2 separate regions of the Homo sapiens genome follow, and region 1 is linked to region 2. Evidence: promoter capture Hi-C in human tissues and cell types (Jung and others, 2019). All regions are on one chromosome and are shown on one strand. Each heading gives the region's core, a stretch centred on a gene start or on the middle of the fragment in contact. The rest is flanking DNA. Distances are from core to core; before and after follow the strand shown.

The links. The method cuts DNA at HindIII sites, captures the fragments that hold promoters and counts their contacts. A contact is called where the count stands out against the background at its distance.
Region 1: a fragment that was not itself captured here is called in contact with the fragment with the promoter of SHISA3 in region 2 in 1 of the 25 tissues and cell types used here (H1 embryonic stem cells).

The regions. Positions count from the first base shown.
Region 1 is chr4:42,158,834-42,163,408 of GRCh38, reverse strand. No RefSeq gene overlaps it. Among named protein-coding and RNA genes, the nearest start is that of BEND4, 8.5 kb to the right of the region's middle. The HindIII fragment of the contact is 4,206 bases long and covers 1-3,489 here.
Region 2 is chr4:42,395,782-42,400,054 of GRCh38, reverse strand. It overlaps SHISA3 (shisa family member 3), which reads right to left and starts at 2,567. Exons shown (of 2, transcript NM_001080505.3): 1 at 1,722-2,567. The coding sequence starts at 1,998. RefSeq lists silencers at 1,054-1,103, 2,744-2,823 and an enhancer at 1,630-2,519. The HindIII fragment of the contact is 30,120 bases long and covers 1-4,273 here.

The sequences.
Region 1 (4,575 bases), core at 137-2,636, 240 kb after region 2:
ATCTGCCCACCTCAGCCTCCCAAAGTGCAGACCCTATTCTTAATAGCCACACATTGGCCCTTTGTTCTGTGGCCTCCTAAGAACTCACTGTTCATGCCCAAGTGTACATATCTGTTGTGTATATTTAAGTCTTCTGTCAATATGTATGAAATCATACAAGTTCTGATAGACTTGCAAAAAAATCAAATACTTGACCTTTTTGGCATAACTCATTCTGATAGAGATTATCATATAATCTACATATGGTATATGATTATCATATATGTATATATACCATACACCTACATATATGGCATATGTATTAGCTTGCTAATGCCGTAATAAGTACCACGTATATGCATTAGTTTGCTAATGCTGCAATAAGTACCATGTATATGTATTAGTTTGCTAATGCTGCAATAAGTACCACGCTGGGCATGGTGGCTCATGTCCAAAGTCCTATAATCCTAGCACTTTGGGAGGCCGAGGCAGGTGGATCACCTAAAGTCAGGAGTTCGAGGCCAGCCAGGCCAACATGGTGAAACCCCATCTCTACTAAAAATACAAAAATTAGCCAGGAGTGGTGGCAGGCAATTGTAATCCCAGCTACTCGGGAGGCTGAGGCAGAAGAATCACTTGAACCCAGGAGGTGGAGGTTGCAGTGAGCTAAGATCACGCCACTGCACTCCAGCCTCGGCAGCAAGAGTGAAACTCCATCTAAAAAAAAAAAAGAAGTACCACAAACTGGGTGGCTGAAACAACAGAAATTTGAACAGAGACAGGGACGTAGGGAGAATGTCATGGAAGATGAAGATGGAGATTGAAGTGGTATTTCTACAAACTGAGGAACACCAGAGATTGCTAGCCAACCAACACCAGAGGGTAAGAAAGAGTCATGGAATGGATTCCTTCTCATGGCCCTCAGAAGGAACCAATCCTGCTGACACCATTTGGTTGAATCTTGGTTGGATCTTGGATTTGTAGCCTCTAGAACTCTGAGGCAATAAATTTCTGGGTAAGCCATTCCGTTTGTGATATGGCAGCCTTTTCTTTTCCCTTATGGAAAAGAAAAATCTGACTTTGCAGTCATTCACTTTTGATGCTGGAGTGGTGGGGAGAAAGACCCACAAGTTTGAATTACCTGAAAACAATAAGTTAAAGGATCACTGTTGGTCTTCACGCAATATATAAAGTCTGTTACCAGCTACTTTTTGGAGACCAAAGAAGAGGTTAAAAAAAAATAAAAGTCCTTGTTCTTTCCTAGCCTAGAAAACAGATCCAAAAAGTCCAGCTGCCTGGACATTTCTTATATAAGTCAGTTAGACACTTATCACAATTTTAGAAGCGAAATCATATTTCTATTGGTTTCCAAAAACTAGTGCTTACAGAAGCTTTGTTAGTAAACCATGAAATACTCCAGACAACCAGAACACCAGACAAATCCAGCTGCTTTCTTGGCTGGGGGCAAATGGCATGCATTAATTTATAAAAATTCTAATAAAGTGTATAATGTGTGATGTTACAAAACTGCAAGTTGCCAATATTTAAGATTATATTTCAGTGGCTCATTTCAGAAGCTTCTCTGTGGAAGTGGCCCTCCTGTGATGGTATGGAATAAAACCTTGACTTAAACACCAATAACCATTATGAACCGATCATTTCCTGTCGTAGCACAGTACCCAGAGAAAGTTAAGAGTGGCCAGGATGGAAATGGATCTTGCTGGAAAAGACTGCAAACTCTTCTTAGGAATTAAATCCCCAACAGTTTGACTTGCTGTTATCGTATATTCTCAACTTTCTCTTCCTAACTCTTTTCTCCTTTTTTCTTCCTGGCTTTAGTATCCAATTTTATTCTCTTAAATATCTCAAGTGGCTGGGTGCAGTGGCTCATGCCTGTAATTCCAGCACTTTGGGAGGCCAAACCAGGAAGATCACTTGAGCCCAGGAGTTCAAGACCACGCTGGGCAATGAAGTGAGACCCTATCTCTCCAAAAACAAACAAACAAACAAACAAACAAACAAACAAGAAAAAAAGCTGAGCGTGGTGGCTGAAACCTGTGATCCCAGCTATATGTAAGGCTGAAGCAGGAGGACTGCCTGAGCCCAGGAGGTCAAGGCTTCAGTGAGCCAGGTTTGCACCACTGCACTCCAGCCTGGGTGACAGAGCGAGACCCTGTCTCCAATAATAATAATAATAATGAAATTAAAAAAAAATTAAATATCTTAAGCTCATACTTATGTCCATGGTGCTTTCAGCTCTTTGGGAGGAATGTTTCTTTAGGAGTTGGAAGAAAGTGAAGAATAGAGAATAAAAGGTTAAATTTATGAAACTTGACAAGGTACATTTGCTACACTGATAAAGAGAAGAATATTGGGCTAACTTCTTCAATGATTTGCTTGGTGACTTTGGGGAAATTTCTTCAGTTCTCTGAAGGGAAATAGCCACAACGTCATAATATTGGAAGGGTCAATGGACAAATAAACTAATCCATTATCAAGACCCAATTAGCCAATAGTCAATTCTGGAGCTGATGGGAAAGAGATAATCTCTTGCACACAGTTGACAACTGCTGGTGGCCAGATAGACACTGTAAAGGAAAGACCTGCCAGAGAATGAATCAACACAAAGAAAACTGGAGGCAAGAATGGACAGGGGTAGATTACTAATAACACCATGTGAGCACCCATGCCTGCAGATATATCTCTGCATTATTCAAGCTATAAACATATTTGCTTAAGTCCATTTGAGTGGATTTCTGTCACTTGCTACTAAAAGAGTCTTAATGATTCTAGGATTCTATTAGTGAAAAAAAAAATGGTAATTAGATCAAAGATGACTGTCCTCTTCTACTCTTTAAAAGGATTCCAAAAACGTCTTAGAAACCATCATAGAAAGGTGTAGTGTTACGATATATATTGGTTTTCATCCACTGTTCCTGGCTCACAACTCTCATAGCCCTTGTTACAATCTTTTGTGACAATGTTGAGTATGTTAGGCCTCAGGTGCAAGCCTGAGGAAACGCAAACTCTGCCCCGCCCTCCTCTCACCTGCCCCAAGGCTGAACTTTAATCTTCCCCCCACCTTTCTGACTGTGGGTCTTTTTTTTTTTTTCTTTCAAATCTCCTATTCTGAGAAGCAGGACTGTGGGTCTTAATACCCGTGCCAGAGAGGGCCCCACTCTATACACTGGGAGAAGGAATGCTGACATCATGAAGCTTCTATAAAAACCCAAAAGGAACTGGGTTCCAAAGTCTTCTGGATAGCTGAGCACGTGGAGGTTCCTGGAGGGTGGCATGCCCAGGCAGGGCATGGAAGCCCTGAGCCTTTTCCCTCATATCTCACCCTACACGTTTCTTCATCTATACCTTTTGGAATATCCTTTATAGTAAACTGGCAAAGGTAAGTAACGGTTCCCCTGAGTTCTGTGAGCTGCTCCAGCAAATTAACTGAACCCAAAGAGGGGGTCATAGGAACCCCAACGTGAAGCCAGTAGGTCTGAAGTTCCGGAGGCCCGCACTTGCGACTGGTGTCTGTGGAGGGGGCAGTCTTGGGGACTGAGCCTTCATCCTGTGTGATCTGATGCTATCTCCAGGTAGATGGTGTCAGAACTGAAGTGGCACCAGCTGGTGTCCAGTGCTTGGTGGTGGAGAAAACCCCCATGTTTGGTCACAGAAGTCTTCTATGTTGATGAGTGTTGTGGTGTGAGAGCAGAGGAAAAATGCAGTTAGAGTTTTTCCCAACCCAGAAGGAAAGATAAAACTGTTGTAGATTTCATTCCAAAGAGAGGATGGAGGGGATTAAGCTTCCTCTGAATAGCCACAAGGGCCAACAGTTCTGAGAAGCAAAGACGTAAATTTGTGTTCAACACAAGGAAAAAATTTCCACTGTTGAGAGCTATATAAAGCAGAACAGGTTGCTTCTTAAATGCATTCCGGATCTGCCCACTTCCTTCCATCGTCACTGCCGCTACACTGGTCCAAGCAGTCTTGGCTCTCATTTAGACTGCTGCCAGGGCTTCATCATGTCACTCAGTCAGAAAATATTTATTGAGCCTCTTTTATGTGCTAAGCATTATTTTAGATGCTGTGGACTCTGTAGAGAACAAAACAGATAAAATCTCTGCCCTGAGGGAGTTTGCATTCTAGTCAATGGAAGCAAATAATAAACAAGTAAATATACAGCATGACAGATGGTGATAGGTGCCAGACAGGAAAGGATATGGGGGGCGGGGGCAGGGAGGGGCAGGTAAGTCAGCTGTAAATAGGTGATCAGTGCAGGCCTCACTGAGAAAGGGATACAAGAGCAAAGACCCAAAGGAGATGAGGGCGAGAGCTATACAGGTATCTGGGGAAACAGTATTTCAAGAAGAAGGAGTACTGACAGCAAGAATCCTGCATGAGACAGGACATTTTTAGCCTGTTCAAGACCAGTAGGGCTGGAGAGGAGTGAGGGAGGGAAGGAGTGAGAGACAAGACTAGCTGGATTTCCTAGGCCAACTAAGAATCCCTAAGCCTAGCTGGGAAAGTGATCACTTCCACCTTTAAACATGGGGCTTGCAACTTAGCTCACACCCGACCAATCAGATAGTAAAGAGA
Region 2 (4,273 bases), core at 1,318-3,817:
TTAAAGTCTCTTGGAGACCCTGTGAGATGGACATGATAAGCTCCATTTTCCAGATGTGGAAATACATCAGAGAAGTTTGCGCATTCCCACAGACAGAGCTAGTGAGGGACAGGTAACTATCAATTATTTGTGGGCTACTAGGCGTAAGCTCTTCTGTGTCCCTCCCATTCTCCCTTGTTTACTAGCACCAGCGTGCAAGGCAAGGCAAAGGTAAGTAACTACCATTTACTGAGCCCTGCGCTCCAGCATTCATACACTCTCACGTCACCAACAACTTAACTCCTTTGAGAGCAATATGCCCACTTTAGAACTGAGAAGAGGTATCCAGAGCAGTTAAGTAACTTGCCCAAGTTACACCGCCGGCAAGTGACAGAGCCAAGGTCCATCAGGGTTTGCCTGATCCCAGACTCAGTGAGTGTGGAGACTGCCTCTCCCTTCTGCTGTCCTCTGGCATCCGAGCCGAGTAGGGAGCGCAGAGGAAGCCCGTGCTGCAGACTGGGCAATTGCACTTACTCCCAGAGGGCAGCTGGGTCCCCCAGGGTGAGCGAGTGAAGCCGTGGGGAAGAGTCTATATTTTTCTAACAGGCCAGGAGGGCCTAGATTTCCCTACTTTCCGCTGAGCATCTTTTCTCCAGAACTACTTCCAGAATCCTCTAGATTGGAAATGTTGACCCCCAACATTCACCCTCTAGTGGAGCACTAATGGAGGGCAGACTCCCCTGTCCTCTGGGTTATCAGTTTGCGGGGAGGGGCCGTTGGGGAACCCTTAATGATCTCTCCAGCCTCTCTTCCCTTTCCCGGCGACCTTCTCTTGCGGGCTCCAGACCTCGGCTCTCTGGAGTCCTGGGGTGTCACCCGCTCTCAGCTCCGCCCGCTTCTCCGGTTTCCCTGGCCATAAAACCCTCGCCTCAAGCTCTAAAGCGTTTCCCTGATGTTCCGATTCAGGTGGAAAACTTTTTTTCAAGGTGTAAATTTTCTCTGCTGGGGTCGTGATTTATTCCGCTCTGAAGTCAGCGGAAATTTGACCCGTGTTTTCCGAAGTGAGAATAGGGGGCGGGGAAGCCCCTTCGACCCTTGTTTCTAAATCTCCACCTCGAAGACCTGGGCATTTCTGAAAGGCGTGACAATAGGGGGTGGGCCGGAGAGGGTAATTCGATGCAGAGAATTGAAAGGAAGTCTGCAGAACGGGGCCGTGGCTTAGAAACGCTATCATTAAGACAGAAAAAAAAAGTGACTGGGGTTTCTTAGCCCTGAAGGGCTGCAAATGAGCGCGCGACAAGAGTCGCGATTCCCTGCATTCGGCACTTCCCGAAGCTCCCGAAGTGACAAGGGCGAGCAATGGGACACCCTCGGCCCCTCCACCAAAACCCAAGTCTACCCTGGCTTTACCCGCACTACCCTTCTCCCGGGAGCTCCAGCTGTCTTCCCCCCGGCTACCAGGCACAAGCCCCGCGCTCCTCACTGTCCCTGGCAAACTTTCCCTGCGGGCCGACCCGCAGAGACCGCAAGTGGCGGGAAGCGGGACTGCAAATGAATAGAGGACCATGATCTGAAACGCGACCACCCACTCATCCCTTGATTCCCCCACCCGGCCGCGTCCCCCTGGCGCACAGACCCAGGAAGGCGCATAGACCTGCCTGGGTCTGTGCATCCTCCCGCGCACACATGCAGCCGCCGCCGTTAGGCGGGCGGGGATATGTCCCCGAGGGCCCCGCACTTACGCGCAGTGATGCCTGGGTGCTCCAGTTCGCGGCGGTCGTTGGTGCAGCCGCCCTGCTCCAGCCTGGCGTCGGCCGCGGCGCAACAGTAGCGGAGCGCGCAGGAGCCGCAGCAGATGGTAGCGTCCAGCGTGTCGAAGTCCTCTGGGCACTGGAAGCCCTCGTGGTAGTTGCCCTGCACGTCCACCCAGCCGTGGCAGTACTCTCCGGACTGCTGGGCGCCCGCCGGGCCCCAGCGCAGCCAGCCAAGGAGAAGGCAAAGCGCCAGCAGTGCCCTCATCGCCACTGGGCTCCCTGGGCGGCCGGGAGCAGGACGCAGCTGGAAAGCGAAGGGCTGAGCCCGGGCTCAGGGCGCACAGCGATTCCGCCTCCCCAGGGACACGTCGCAAGCTGCTGGCCCCGGCGGCCGAAGCCAGTCCTGCGTGGGATAGCAGGGGCCGGGGAGGCGACAGGGGCTGCACTACGAGTTCCGCAGGCCGGGAGTCAGCATGGTGCGCGGGGCGAGTTGGCGAGGGCCTGCGGGAGGCGCCGGCAGAGGCAGTTGCTGGGGCTGTCGCTGCCGCCCTTCGCCCGGCTCATAGCGCTCCCCGCGCGAGGGGCGCGCCAACCCCCCGGCCACCTCCCTCCCCACTCCTCAAGGGAGCCATAGCGCCCGGGGCTGCCAACTCCAGCGCCGCACAGAGTCCCAACCTGTGGCGATCGCCGGGTCCCGAGAGGAGCCGGAGGAAAAGAATTTGTTCCCCACGTGCGAGTACCCCAGACAGGCGGCCGCTCAGCCCCAGCCCCTATCTGTCACAGGAGCAGGAGTCAGCTCCGCCGCGGCCAAGTACAAACGGCCGCGGGGTTGCTGACAGCTCTGCCCGCAAGGCGTCTTTTAAAAAGGAAGAGGGAGGAGGAGACAATGAGGGTTAAGAAAGAGTCCGCCCTCCCGGATCGCGCCTCTGGAGCTAATCACAGCGGGTGCGGCGCGGGCCGAGGGTCCTCTGCGCTTTCTGGTTCGCGCTCCATCCTCCGCCTCCCCCCGGCCACCCCCGCCCATGCCGCTCCCCCAGGACTTGACTCTCAACCTGAAGATATCAGACCCTCCCCTCCCCCGCCGCACACCCCAACTCTCTCACAGCCCGGAAATCTCTGCAGAGTGACGTTGAGGGCTGCCGAATTCCCGCGTTTATCCACGCACGTGGGCGCGCGAGTGGAGACGCTGGATTTACTTTTCAATGGATATAATGCATGAATGCGGTGCAGTCATTGAAGTTTGTCGAATCATCTGTGCCCTGTTGCACAGACTCAGACTCGTTCCTGGGATACCGCTTCTAAAGGTTCAGGACCGAGAACATGGTTTTTAGGTGTCGCCAACATGTGCTGAGCTTTCCACCTACGTTTCCACTTTTTCTGGGAGGAACGGCACATTTTCACAAGCACACACACACACACACTCGCACTTTTTCCGCCGGCTGAAGGATTGCCGGTCACCTCTGCCAGCCAAGGCCAGCTCGCAAAACCTCAAAGAGCACGACTTCTCCGTTCACGCCCGCAAAGGAAATAAAGGAGCAAAATTAATGATAATTGAGCAGAACTGAACTTCTGTTCAGGGAAAGAAACACATTTATTTAAATGATGTGTCCCCTGTGGGCTATTTTCAGGGGCACTGCTCCGTTAGCGGCCTAAGTGCCTTATGAAACTGGTGTTATGTGAAACCTGGGCCAAACGCAAGCATTTATTTTGACTGCATCCTGAACTTCCAATCATCGTCTATTGGTATGTGTGAATATGTTCGGTGTATCTCGGCTTATTTGTCAAACAAGCTGCATACCCGTGTCCCTGAGTTAGATGTCGGCAAGTTGAGTGAAACAAAAGGAACAAAGTGTTCTCAGCTCCAGCGACACAAGGTGCGCGGTCAAACGCATTTATCACGTTCGCAGCTTCCTGATGAACCGAGTCGATTCCGGAGAAACTTTTTTAAAAATCTCCTATTAAAACGATTTCTTTTTTTTTTTTTTTTATCTAAGTTAAAGTATATTCCAATTAAATAATTACTTCTGATTTCTAATTTTAGGTATTGGGATTAGCATTTAGTTATGTGGCTGCTGAAAATACATGTCCATTTCACACGTTAAGTGGGACCGTGTAAATATTTAACTTTATTGCTCTCTTAGAGTTACATATTTCTTAGGACAATACGAAGCTATTAAGTAAAAACAAATTAAGTTGGAGCTTTCAATAACAAACAATGAAACAGTTTTTTAGTTAAATAGTTTAAGCATATGGGAAATTGTTTTGCAGAAATTTCTTAGATATTGGGTTTTTTATTTACAAAAAAAAGGTCTTGCCAGACTTAATCTTTTTTTTAACTCTAGTTGTTTTTTAGGAGTGTTGTTTCAATTGTATATATATCCTGAGCAATTACAGGAAAATGTCACTTAGAAACACAGCAAAAATGAGATATAGTGATTATAATCAGATGATAAAAATTATGACATGTTTACTGCTAATAACTTTCCCAGAACCACACCTTTTAATATTAGTTTTTGTTAAAATTTAGAGGAATTTCATTA